Linked DNA regions of Homo sapiens: region 2 is linked to region 1. The links are contacts of gene promoters, found by promoter capture Hi-C in human tissues and cell types (Jung and others, 2019). All regions are on one chromosome and are shown on one strand. The core of a region is centred on a gene start or on the middle of the fragment in contact, and the rest is flanking DNA. Distances in the headings are between cores, read along the strand shown.

Evidence for each region. Contacts are between HindIII fragments. The study calls those that stand out against the background at their distance.
Region 2: a fragment that was not itself captured here is called in contact with the fragment with the promoter of ANAPC4 in region 1 in 1 of the 25 tissues and cell types used here (lymphoblastoid cells).

The regions. Positions count from the first base shown.
Region 1 is chr4:25,375,191-25,380,275 of GRCh38, forward strand. It overlaps ANAPC4 (anaphase promoting complex subunit 4), which reads left to right and starts at 2,073. Exons shown (of 29, transcript NM_013367.3): 1 at 2,073-2,154; 2 at 2,228-2,366. The coding sequence starts at 2,238. RefSeq lists a silencer at 1,776-2,195 and enhancers at 2,316-2,375, 2,406-2,475. The HindIII fragment of the contact is 8,136 bases long and covers 1-5,085 here.
Region 2 is chr4:24,514,131-24,519,215 of GRCh38, forward strand. No RefSeq gene overlaps it. Among named protein-coding and RNA genes, the nearest start is that of MIR573, 3.6 kb to the right of the region's middle. The HindIII fragment of the contact is 5,083 bases long and covers 115-5,085 here.

The DNA of each region.
Region 1 (5,085 bases), core at 823-3,322:
ATCTGGAACTCCACACTTAGGCTGTTTCCTTTGCTGTAAGGCTTAGAAAATTTATATTCTGTGAAGACTTAATGTGCAGGTGGTTATACTCTGTCCTTTGCAGTACGGTGTTTATGCCTCTGGGAACAGTGATTTTCACGTGCTGTATGGGTGTTTGTATTCAGGTAAGTTCCAGGAAAATGGACATTCAATTTCCGTAAGAAGGTTAATGTGCATAGATACTAGACCCCCACCAGGTGATCCATTATAACTGCCCCAAAACACTAACACCTGAAAATGCATTTTGTGAAAAACAAAGGCAAATGCATTTTTACCTTAGAAATGTTGATTCTGGAAGAGTTGGGGGCACTTGGTAAGTTGTTTGTGGCAAAGGCAAGGGCTGCAAAGCCCGTGACAGGAAGCAGGGTAGGTATAAAGTCAAGGATTAAGAACAGTACTTGGCACAAAATAGTTACTTGATGCTGAATGAATTAGTCTCCCTCCGTCATCTACTTCCCAGGGGCTAGATCCAGACAGAGGTCAAGAAGATGGGGCCTGTTGAAAGTTAAAGGACCTGCCGTCTGTTTCTTCTTTGAACAAGTGAAAGGTAGTAAAAAGTAGATGGCTTTCTACCATAGGTTTTAAGTTTAAGAACCCTAGGATGGTACTGTCACATTCTCTTAGGGAGGTCATAGCTGTGGGAACTGTCAACAGGTTGACTCATTTAAATGTGTCCTACATAAAGCAACATCAGATGAGTTCTGATTTACAAGTCTGCCAGGCTGGCCTGTGAGCCTCTGGGCAGAGTTCCCGTCCCATGCATTGCTGTAGCCTCAGTTCCTCCACATAGTAAATGCCCAAGTACCTATAGAAGAAATCGTGTGTGAGCCCACACTCTTTTTTTATATTTTAGAGACGGAGTCTGGCTCTGTTGCCCAGGCTGGAGTGCAGTGGCACAATCTCGGCTCACTGCAAGCTCCGCCTCACTGCAAGCCCCGCCTCACTGCAAGCTCCGCCTCACTGCAAGCTCCGCCTCCCGGGTTCACGCCATTCTCCTGCCTCAGCCTCCCCAGTAGATGGGACTACAGGTGCCCGCCACCATGCCTGGCTACTTTTTTGTATTTTTTAGTAGAGACGGGGTTTCACCATGTTAGCCAGGATGGGCTCTATCTCCTGTCCTTGTGATCCGTCCGCCACGGCCTCCCAAAGTGCTGGGATTACAGGCGTGAGCCACCGCGCCCGGCCCTGAGCCCACACTCTTTATTCGTTATGACGGTGCTGCAACTACCAATAAGTTGTGAGGGTTAAATGGGATGAGATGTCACAGTATTATTTGCCTGTTAGGGAGGTTTTAGGGCACGCGCCTCTTCTCTCCAAATTGGAATCACCCAAAGAGTTTTAGTAAATACTGGGCCCATCCAGGGTTAATTTTCTTCTAATTGGTTTGGGGTGCTGCTTGGACAGGGGGACTTTTAAAATTCTATACTGACCCACCAGGACTGACATGAGAACTACTCGCTTAGTAACTGTTAGAGGAGGCGCCAGCTGATCAGGACCTAAAGTTCATATTCTTTTTCATCTCCCCGTTGTCGCTGAAGCCTACCCCATAAACCCCTACCGTCCCTTTGCCCACAGCAGAGAATTTCCGGGAAAACGGGAAAGGTATGCAAGCATGCCCACACACGTGCACACACGGGTTCCCAAAAGACCTGCGTGTGGCCGCAGGGGCCTGCCCCGCCCTTCTCGGGCCCTTTCAGGTCCCGGCGCCCAGCGATCCCACCAGCACCTGGGTCCGGCGCGCGGCTCCCTCCCTCTCCGCGCCCCTCGGGGCTCCCTGCCCCGCCCGCGTGCCCCACCCTTCCTAGCTCTGCCCCATCGCTGCTCCCTGCCCCGCCCACGGGCCCCATCCTACCCCCACCTCGATCCGCCCCTCGCTCCTCCCTGCCCCGCCCACCGCGCCCCGTCCCTGTCCGCCCCTTCTGGCTCTCAGCACCCCCAAGACCGGTGCGCGCCCCGCCCCTCCTCCTCCTCTCGCGAGGCAGTCCCGACGCCGGAAGTGCCTGGAGCGCGCGACAGCGGCGGGGCGGGGCGGCCTGGAGGCTGTGGCGCGCGGCCGGCAGAGGGAGGGGAGAGGCCACTGGGGCCGTGTTAGTCTGCCGGTGGGGACTCTTGCAGGTACAGGCGCGGTCGGGGCTCCTCGTGGAGAGCCGGGGGCTCCTGCCGGCCTCTGACTGGGGTGTCGTTGCAGGGCCGTCCCCATGTTGCGTTTTCCGACCTGTTTCCCATCCTTCCGGGTGGTGGGAGAGAAGCAGCTCCCGCAGGAGATTATTTTCCTGGTCTGGTCGCCCAAGCGGGATCTCATTGCTTTGGCCAACACAGCTGGCGAGGTGAGTGAGCCGGCGGGAGCCCGCCTGTGCTGGGTCTGCTCCCGGGGGGCCCAAGAACACCGAGCCCGAGCCTGTTCATTCGGGCCACAGGCGGCCGGAGCCTCAGTTTCCCCTTCTGCAGACATGGCTGGCCACCTGCTACCCCTTCCCTGCCTCCCAGGACGGCAGTAAACTTTAAGTATATATGCGAAAGGTGATGTCTGTGCTATTTTCGGTACTTTTATGGCTAAAGTAACAGTTTTCACACAGCTTAACACCGTCACGCAATCCTGCTTCCCCAAGTCTTCTTCACTCATTGGTTTATTAGTTAAATGAACTTTTTAAAAAAGCCCACTATGTGCTGCTCATGAGCTAGACATAATGGTAGATGCAGGGACCCTGCCCTAAGTTTGCTTACAGTTTTAATAGCAGTAGGAAGAGTTATTGTCAAACTTCAGCTGCAAATGTGCCTGCATGTAGCTGCCACACAGGATATATTTAAGAACCTGGCTTCTCTTGTCCACGTTTTATAGTACGGGTTGGATAACCACCCTCCACTAAAAATACCTCTAAATTGGACAAGGAAGGCATGCATTGGATTCCAGACAGAACGTGCATGGGTGTTATCAGCATTTCTTGTTCACATAAAACTTCATCGAGTATAAACCAGTTGTACCCAACTTTCTGCTGAGAGTTATTACCTGCCAGCCATTTTGTAAGGAAACCTTCACCTGTGCATCTTTCCGCCTCTGGCTTGAGAGTTATCTGGCCATGTGAGAGTTGTATAGAGCCAAATTTGGAAACTAGGTGATAAGGAAATCTTAGCACCCTGCAGACTGTAGTCTGCACCATGTTATCTACCATGATCCAGTCGCCAGGGTATTGATGTCTAATTTTTCAGGGCCCTCCATGAAATCTAGCTAGTCTCCCTCCGCTGCCGGGATGCTTTGAAACTCTGTTGTGGCTCTAGAGAGCAGCAGGTGGTACCGTCACAGAAGTAGGAGGGAAGGTAGACGGGAGGCACATCCGTGCAATCAGATGGGTAGGCGTGATAGAGGGCACTGTTACATCCATTTTCTCAGTGAAGGAAGAAGCAAGGGCATTGTTTATGGGTGAAGATGGAGAAGAATATATTGGAAGTTTGAGGAGAAAGAAGAGGTATGAAAAAGCTAACAAAGCAGGTGGACTTGGGAAACCTAATAGGATTGCCAGTCAGTGTTAAGACCCACATGAGATCGGTGTTATTATTTGAGAGACACTGGTTGAATAAGGTTGTATGTGTCTCTCTCCGTTCTGTTTGGCTGTGTGGGTGCAGGCATGGTTGGGTTTAACCAGGATTGTCGTTTTGCAAGTATGACAAAGCAAGGCAAAGATGAAAGAGAGTTGAAGTTACGTGCAAGAGGAGTGATTGTGTTTCTGAACTTTGGGTTCTAACCTGATGAAGGAGGGAAGTGAAGGCATGTGTGGGGAGAGGGACAGTGAACAGGTGGTAGAATCAATAGACTGTATCCTGGTGAGGTCAAAGAATTGGAGTTGAGTGTTGTAGAGATGACCTGGAAAGAGGGGTGGTGGATGGAAAGTGGGAAGTTTAAAATGGAGATTTTGGTGGCCCTGCAGTTGTTGGTAATGACCAGGCCGGAGGTGTGACCCTGGGAGTGGCTGAGTGCAGTAGAAGATGTGATCACTGGAGGAGAGGTAATTGAGAGCTGAAAAGCCAGGACATCATAGCTCTTGAAATCACCAAAAATGATGATGAGTGTGTTGTTAGAAGGCATGAGCAAGCCAGGTATCCAGATCTTTAAGGAATGAGGGGAATGGCCTAGGGGTCTGTAGAGGACTGCAATTAAGACGGATAGCGAGTGGTATGGTCTGATTGCATGTGATTCAAAGTTAGGAGATTTACAAGAAGAGAAGAAATGGCATCAAGCATCAAGGAAGACACCTACTTCATCTCCTAGCCCAAAAGCAGCAGTACAGGGGCTGTGGGATACAAAATGGCCACCACCTAGCAAGGCTGCAGGGAAGCATTGTCCTCAGGTGAGAGGCACATTTCAGAGAAAAGTACGAAGATATTAATTTCATGATGACACCTGACCATGAGCTGCAGAAAGCACAGAGGAAGGGTTTCAGAAGTAAGGTATGGCAGGAGTGGTTTCAGAAAAGAGAGGGTCAAATCCAGGGGATGTTGTAACCAGGAGTGAAGGGTGCTGTGAGCTGTGAGATAAGGCAGGGTCATGGTGGCTTAGCTGAGTGTGGAAATGGGGAGGGGTCTTGGAGGAGCATGTGCAGTGGTGAGGCCTTTTCTTCCTTACTGTCAATGGTTGTATAGAAGCTGCAACGGGGCAGTCATAGAGCTCTTGGGCAACATTTTGACCTTCCAAGGTGGGAATTTACTGATGTGGAAATGGAGATTTAGAATGGTTAAGTGATATGTCTAAGATCCATGGCTAGTGAGTGACACAGCTGAAACTAGGTGCCACGTGGACTAATTCCAAGCTTAGTATAATTTGACTGTATTACAGCTAGCTACCTTTTTAGTGGTGTTTGTGTTCTTTTATTTCTTTTTTGGTTGTCACCTTGGACAGCCGCCTTCTTTATAAAAGGTAAGTCTCCCGTTGACATAAAAGATTAGGTACAGGGTTAAATTAGACCTTGTTTCACCCATTTATTTTAAAATACCTTGTGTTCATTCAGACACTGTTGTCTTTTTCTATTCTTCTGATAGCTAAGTATATATGAG
Region 2 (5,085 bases), core at 1,406-3,905, 860 kb before region 1:
TCTCACCTGGCTATATGTAACTTCAAGGGGGCAGTGCAAACCTACCACATGCCTGAAATTAGAAATATTTGGAGAACAGCATTAATGACTACCACAGCGATCTTAGTTTACAAAGCATCTGTCACAATGATTACCCAACTTAATCCTCACAATTCCAAGATGGTAATTAATCATTAAATGTGATCATTTAATTATAAGGCATCAGCAAGCACCAACCAAAACAGAAAACCCAATATAAACAGTTCAGGCAACTCTGCCCACTAGTGAGTGAAAGTGTCTGGAGTGCATGAGATACGAGGTATGAATCTGCTACGTGCTCAAGCCTTATCCACCTCTCCAACCTCTCCATGTGTGTGTCATCTATGAGTGGGATTCTGCTTTTGATAAAGATATTTCTTTTTTTGTATGTGGCCTCTGAATGAAGGCCAACCAAGATTCTCAGCTCAAAAGCTGTAATCTTTCAATGTTGGAGGGGAAAAAAGGCCATTTTCCCCCTGCAAAGTAATCAAGCATGCTTCCCTGTCACACCACCTTCTTAGGGAGACTCAATTTGGACTATATCATGATTTCTGCCTTAAGGACTGACTTTAGAGTCTGCCCCTGGATGAGAGCTGAGACATCACTTCATCATTCTCTAAAAGATGAAGAAATGAACAAAGTTTCAGCAGTCAACAAGGACACTGAGCAAGGAAGTGGCTCAAAATTCCCATTTCTTTAAGGCAAGTCTCCTGTAAGGGAATAGCTTAGATGTGGCTCTCCCCATCCAGCTCAGTATTTCACCTACCTATTCCACAATGAAGATGAAAAGTGTGAAGCAGGAGGGTAGCAAATAGTCCTCACTTTTGTTAACCCCCTCAGGGAGGTTTTGGTTTCAAAGTCTGACCACTGGGTGTCAGGCTTCGGGGGAAAGAAAATAGAGATGGTTTATCAACCCCACTTAATTATGCCAGAGAATGCAGGTGAGATTTGCTAAAGGACAGAAAATCAGCTGGCTTAAGTCTGTCAATATGTCTGAAGAAGCTTACTAAACTTTCACTCATCTGACTACACCAATAAATATTTATCTTTTCTAAATCTGTACAAATAATTCATTAGACAGCACACAGCGATATTGACCTCAATCCTGTCCTTGATTTAAAGATTAAAAGGGAGTGGTCAACTTCTGTATCTAGCAATTCTGAAGACAGATAATCTGAAAGCGTCCCTGCAACAAAATACCTAGAAATGCATATAATGAATATGCTTAGGGAATAAATACTTTTTTTTTTTTTTTTTTTTTTTTTTTGAGACGGAGTCTCGCTCTGTCGCCCAGGCTGGAGTGCAGTGGCACGATCTCGGCTCACTGCAAGCTCCGCCTCCCGGGTTCACGCCATTCTCCTGCCTCAGCCTCGCGAGTAGCTGAGACTACAGGCGCCGGCCACCGCGCCCGGCTAATTTTTTTTTTTTTTTGTATTTTTAGTAGAGACGGGGTTTCACCGTGTTTGCCAGGATGGTCTCGATCTCCTGACCTCGTGATCCGCCTGCCTCGGCCTCCCAAAGTGCTGGGATTACAGGCGTGAGCCACCGCGCCTGGCATAAATACGTATTTTTAAATACACAGCTGAGTTTATTCTGGGATGGGAAGAAGGGACTGGAAAAATTCAAACAGTAAGAGTGATGTGACTGGGTATGCATTGGAGACAGGAAGAGGAGGAATGAGTCAAGTGCTGTAGAACTGAGATTTCTACATAAAGTCTGGGCCTTTAAAGGGACACAGGCATAGGACAATGAAGTTCTCTGCACTGGCTGCAGGTGGTGTAAGGTATACCGAGGAAAATAACCAGCTCTACAGATTAAGTTAATGGGCTCTGTGGACCTTTCCCATCCCTCTGCCTGGGGTTCACCGTTCTCACTAGTCCTAAACCTTGGGCAGGTTACATAACCTTATGGTACCCCGTTTGCCTTGGTTGTGGTATTGTGAAGAGCCGATAAACCTCGTGCATATTAAGTGCTAAGTGTACAAAAGCATGGAAGGGGCAAATCAAAAGTGGAAATATGTTTTTCTCCCAGAGATCAAGATTTTTCCTTAAGAAAGTCAAGATATGGTTATGCATTATCTGCCTATTTAATGAAAAATAAACATCTTTAGTTATAAAGGACCAGGATTTCATAGCCTTATCAAATGCTAATGAAATGAGAAAAAAAAGTTTAAAATTAGCAAAACGCTTAAAATTTCCTCCATAGTTATATCACTAAAATAATGGGGGGAAATGTTCTTTTGATAACTATCAAGTTTTATATCCTTTCCTTAATGCCACTGGCAGAGTTCAAAAACGGTTTTTATTTGGGGAAAGCAAGAAACCAAATAGGATTATAAAATACCACAGGTACAGCCGGGCGCGGTGGCTCACGCCTGTAATCCCAGCACTGTGGGAGGCTGAGGCAGGTGGATCACCTGAGGTCAGGAGTTCGAGACCAGCCTGGCCAACGTGGTGAAACCCTGTCTCTACTAAAAATACAAAAGTCAGCCAGGCATGGATGTGCATGCCCGTAGTGCCAGCTACTGGGGAGGCTGAGGCAGAATTACTCGAACCTGGGAGGCGGAGGTTGCAGTGAGCCGAGATCTTGCCACTGCACTCTAGCCTGGTGGACAGAGCGAGACTCTGTCTCAAACAAACAAACAAAACAAAACAAAACACAGGTACAGGATATACTCCATAGAGAGGAAATGCTCTCGCTTAGGATGAGACAAAATAACAAACTGAATGACCTTGAACAGAACTTGGTTATCTTTGGGTCTTGGTTTTCTTTGAGTATGAGGATTTGAAATCAATTACTTCTGGGGTCTCTTCCAGCACTTCCTGATTTTATGACAGTTATTCCAATTGCAAAAGAAACTAACTACCCATTTGGCCCTCCCATTCCACAAAAACAAAACACACAGTATCATTTCAAGAGTCAGAGTCAGATTCTTGTTTTGAATTTAAAGTGCTACATGACTGCTAAGGTTAAAACTCCTTTCTTTCAAAAATCAAAAAGGTTGAATCATCAGAGGATAAAACCCATCACCACTGCAAACCAAAGTGGATTTTCAACCTAGTAGAAAATGTGAATTGACAAAGCATGCAAAAATTAGCTCAAGTAGCTGCAACCTTCTTCTATAAGTATCCTGGTAAATGCTTAGGAGTTTAAGTGTGTATTGTTTATGCTGCAAGAAGCATATGAGGTTGAAAGCATGGATGTGTTATGCCCAGAAACTGGAATCTTAATTCAATAGGGAAAGAGTCTTCTTCAAGTAAAAATAACACAACTAAAAAATTACAAAGTCTTAATACGAACTGTTTAATTGTTATAACAAGATTTGAGAGGCAGGGGTAGGTAAGTAAGTCACCAACTGGCGATAAGTCACCAACTGTTAATATGTGTCTGCAAGTTTCTTGTTTTTCACAATCACTAGATTTACATACAATTATAGGTTATGGTTCTCCATGTACACATACAGTGAAAGACATTTTCCAAATACCTTTTGATGTAGAATGGAACCTGAGACAAAAAAATCACTTAAGAAATCAAATCTCATATAATGGAAATACTTTAACCACAGCATTCACACATTTGACTGTGGATTCCAAATGCTTATCTAAACAGAGGCAACGCAATTAAACTGCCTTCACTCAAAATGGTGTCAGAAGGCAACTACCCTATTTACTAGCCACTGATAAGTTATGACAACACTATTTCATAGCCTGTCACTATATTTCTTTTAACCCCCCAGCAGTAGGATTTAGGATTTCCTCAACACTAAGGGCTTATCTCAAATGCTTTAGTGCACGAACAGTAAAAAATCAGAGTTGCAATGCCACATTGAGAAACTAGATAATGACTTGGAAATAAAAGTGGGGGAAGTGATGAACTGCCACTACCTGTTTTTCTAAGTTTTCTATTTTCTAATACAGAGCAAAACTTTAAATGCTAACGACAAAAATAAATCTAACAGGCCTAGAAATTCTGAAGGTAACCCAGTGACAATAGAAAACTTTTAGATCACTATTAAGAGGTCTTTATATTGTTCATAAACAATAGGAAAATAAGACTGATACTGTTTATAATTACTAACTAGATAAAATTTGGCAAAAGACATCTAATATACTTTTTACAATGAAAATGATTTCTAAAAATGATTCCCTTGATCTCATACCTATAGAAAAACTATCAGTGATTACTTTTTAGTATGAAAATAATAAGCTAGTTACACAATTTAAATATTATTTTCTGACTTTTCTCTCTTCCTTATGAGACTGGGGAAAAAAGATGTTAGAGGAGAAAAATAACTGTTACATGCCAAATAGTTCAAAATCTTCCCCTGGAAACTGAAACAGGATCCTTAGAAAGTACATAATGTCCTGGAGTTTCCCTTGTAGACAAATACTTTGGTCATTTATTTGTAATCAGATACTGATTTTAGCAGATTACAGCACTTATAAACATTGTCACAGACCGCACAATGTCCATTCATAAATAAAGGAGGTTTATTCATGAAAAGGTTGTGATTCTTCTGAAAGCATCCAATACAACCTTTCTGGACATTTCCCTTTCAGTATTACCTGGCATGTAATCAGGAAAGGGAAACATTCAGGTAAGTTACAACCTCCAGTCATATTCACAGCAATATGCAATATGGACATTTACAGGGGGAATCCCTTTGCAGGTGACTTCAACTAGAAATCCCAAGAGTCACAGTAAATGTTTCAAAGTCCATATAAAGAAAGAAGCTTGGCCGGGCGCGGTGGCTCACGCCTGTAATCCCAGCACTTTGGGAGGCCGAGGTGGGTGGATCACTTGAGGTCAGGAGTTCAAGACAAGCCTGGCCAACATGGCGAAACCCCATCTCCACTAAAAATACAAAAATTAGCCGGATGTGATGGTGGGCGCCTGTAATCCCAGCTACTCGGGAGGCTGAGACAGGAGAAACACTTGTACCTGGGAGGCAGAGGTTGCAGTGAGCCAGATCGTGCCACTGCACTCCAGCCTGAGCAACAGAGCGAGATTCTGCCTCAAATAAATAAATAAATAAAAGTATTTGCTGAAAGAATGATATTGTATACC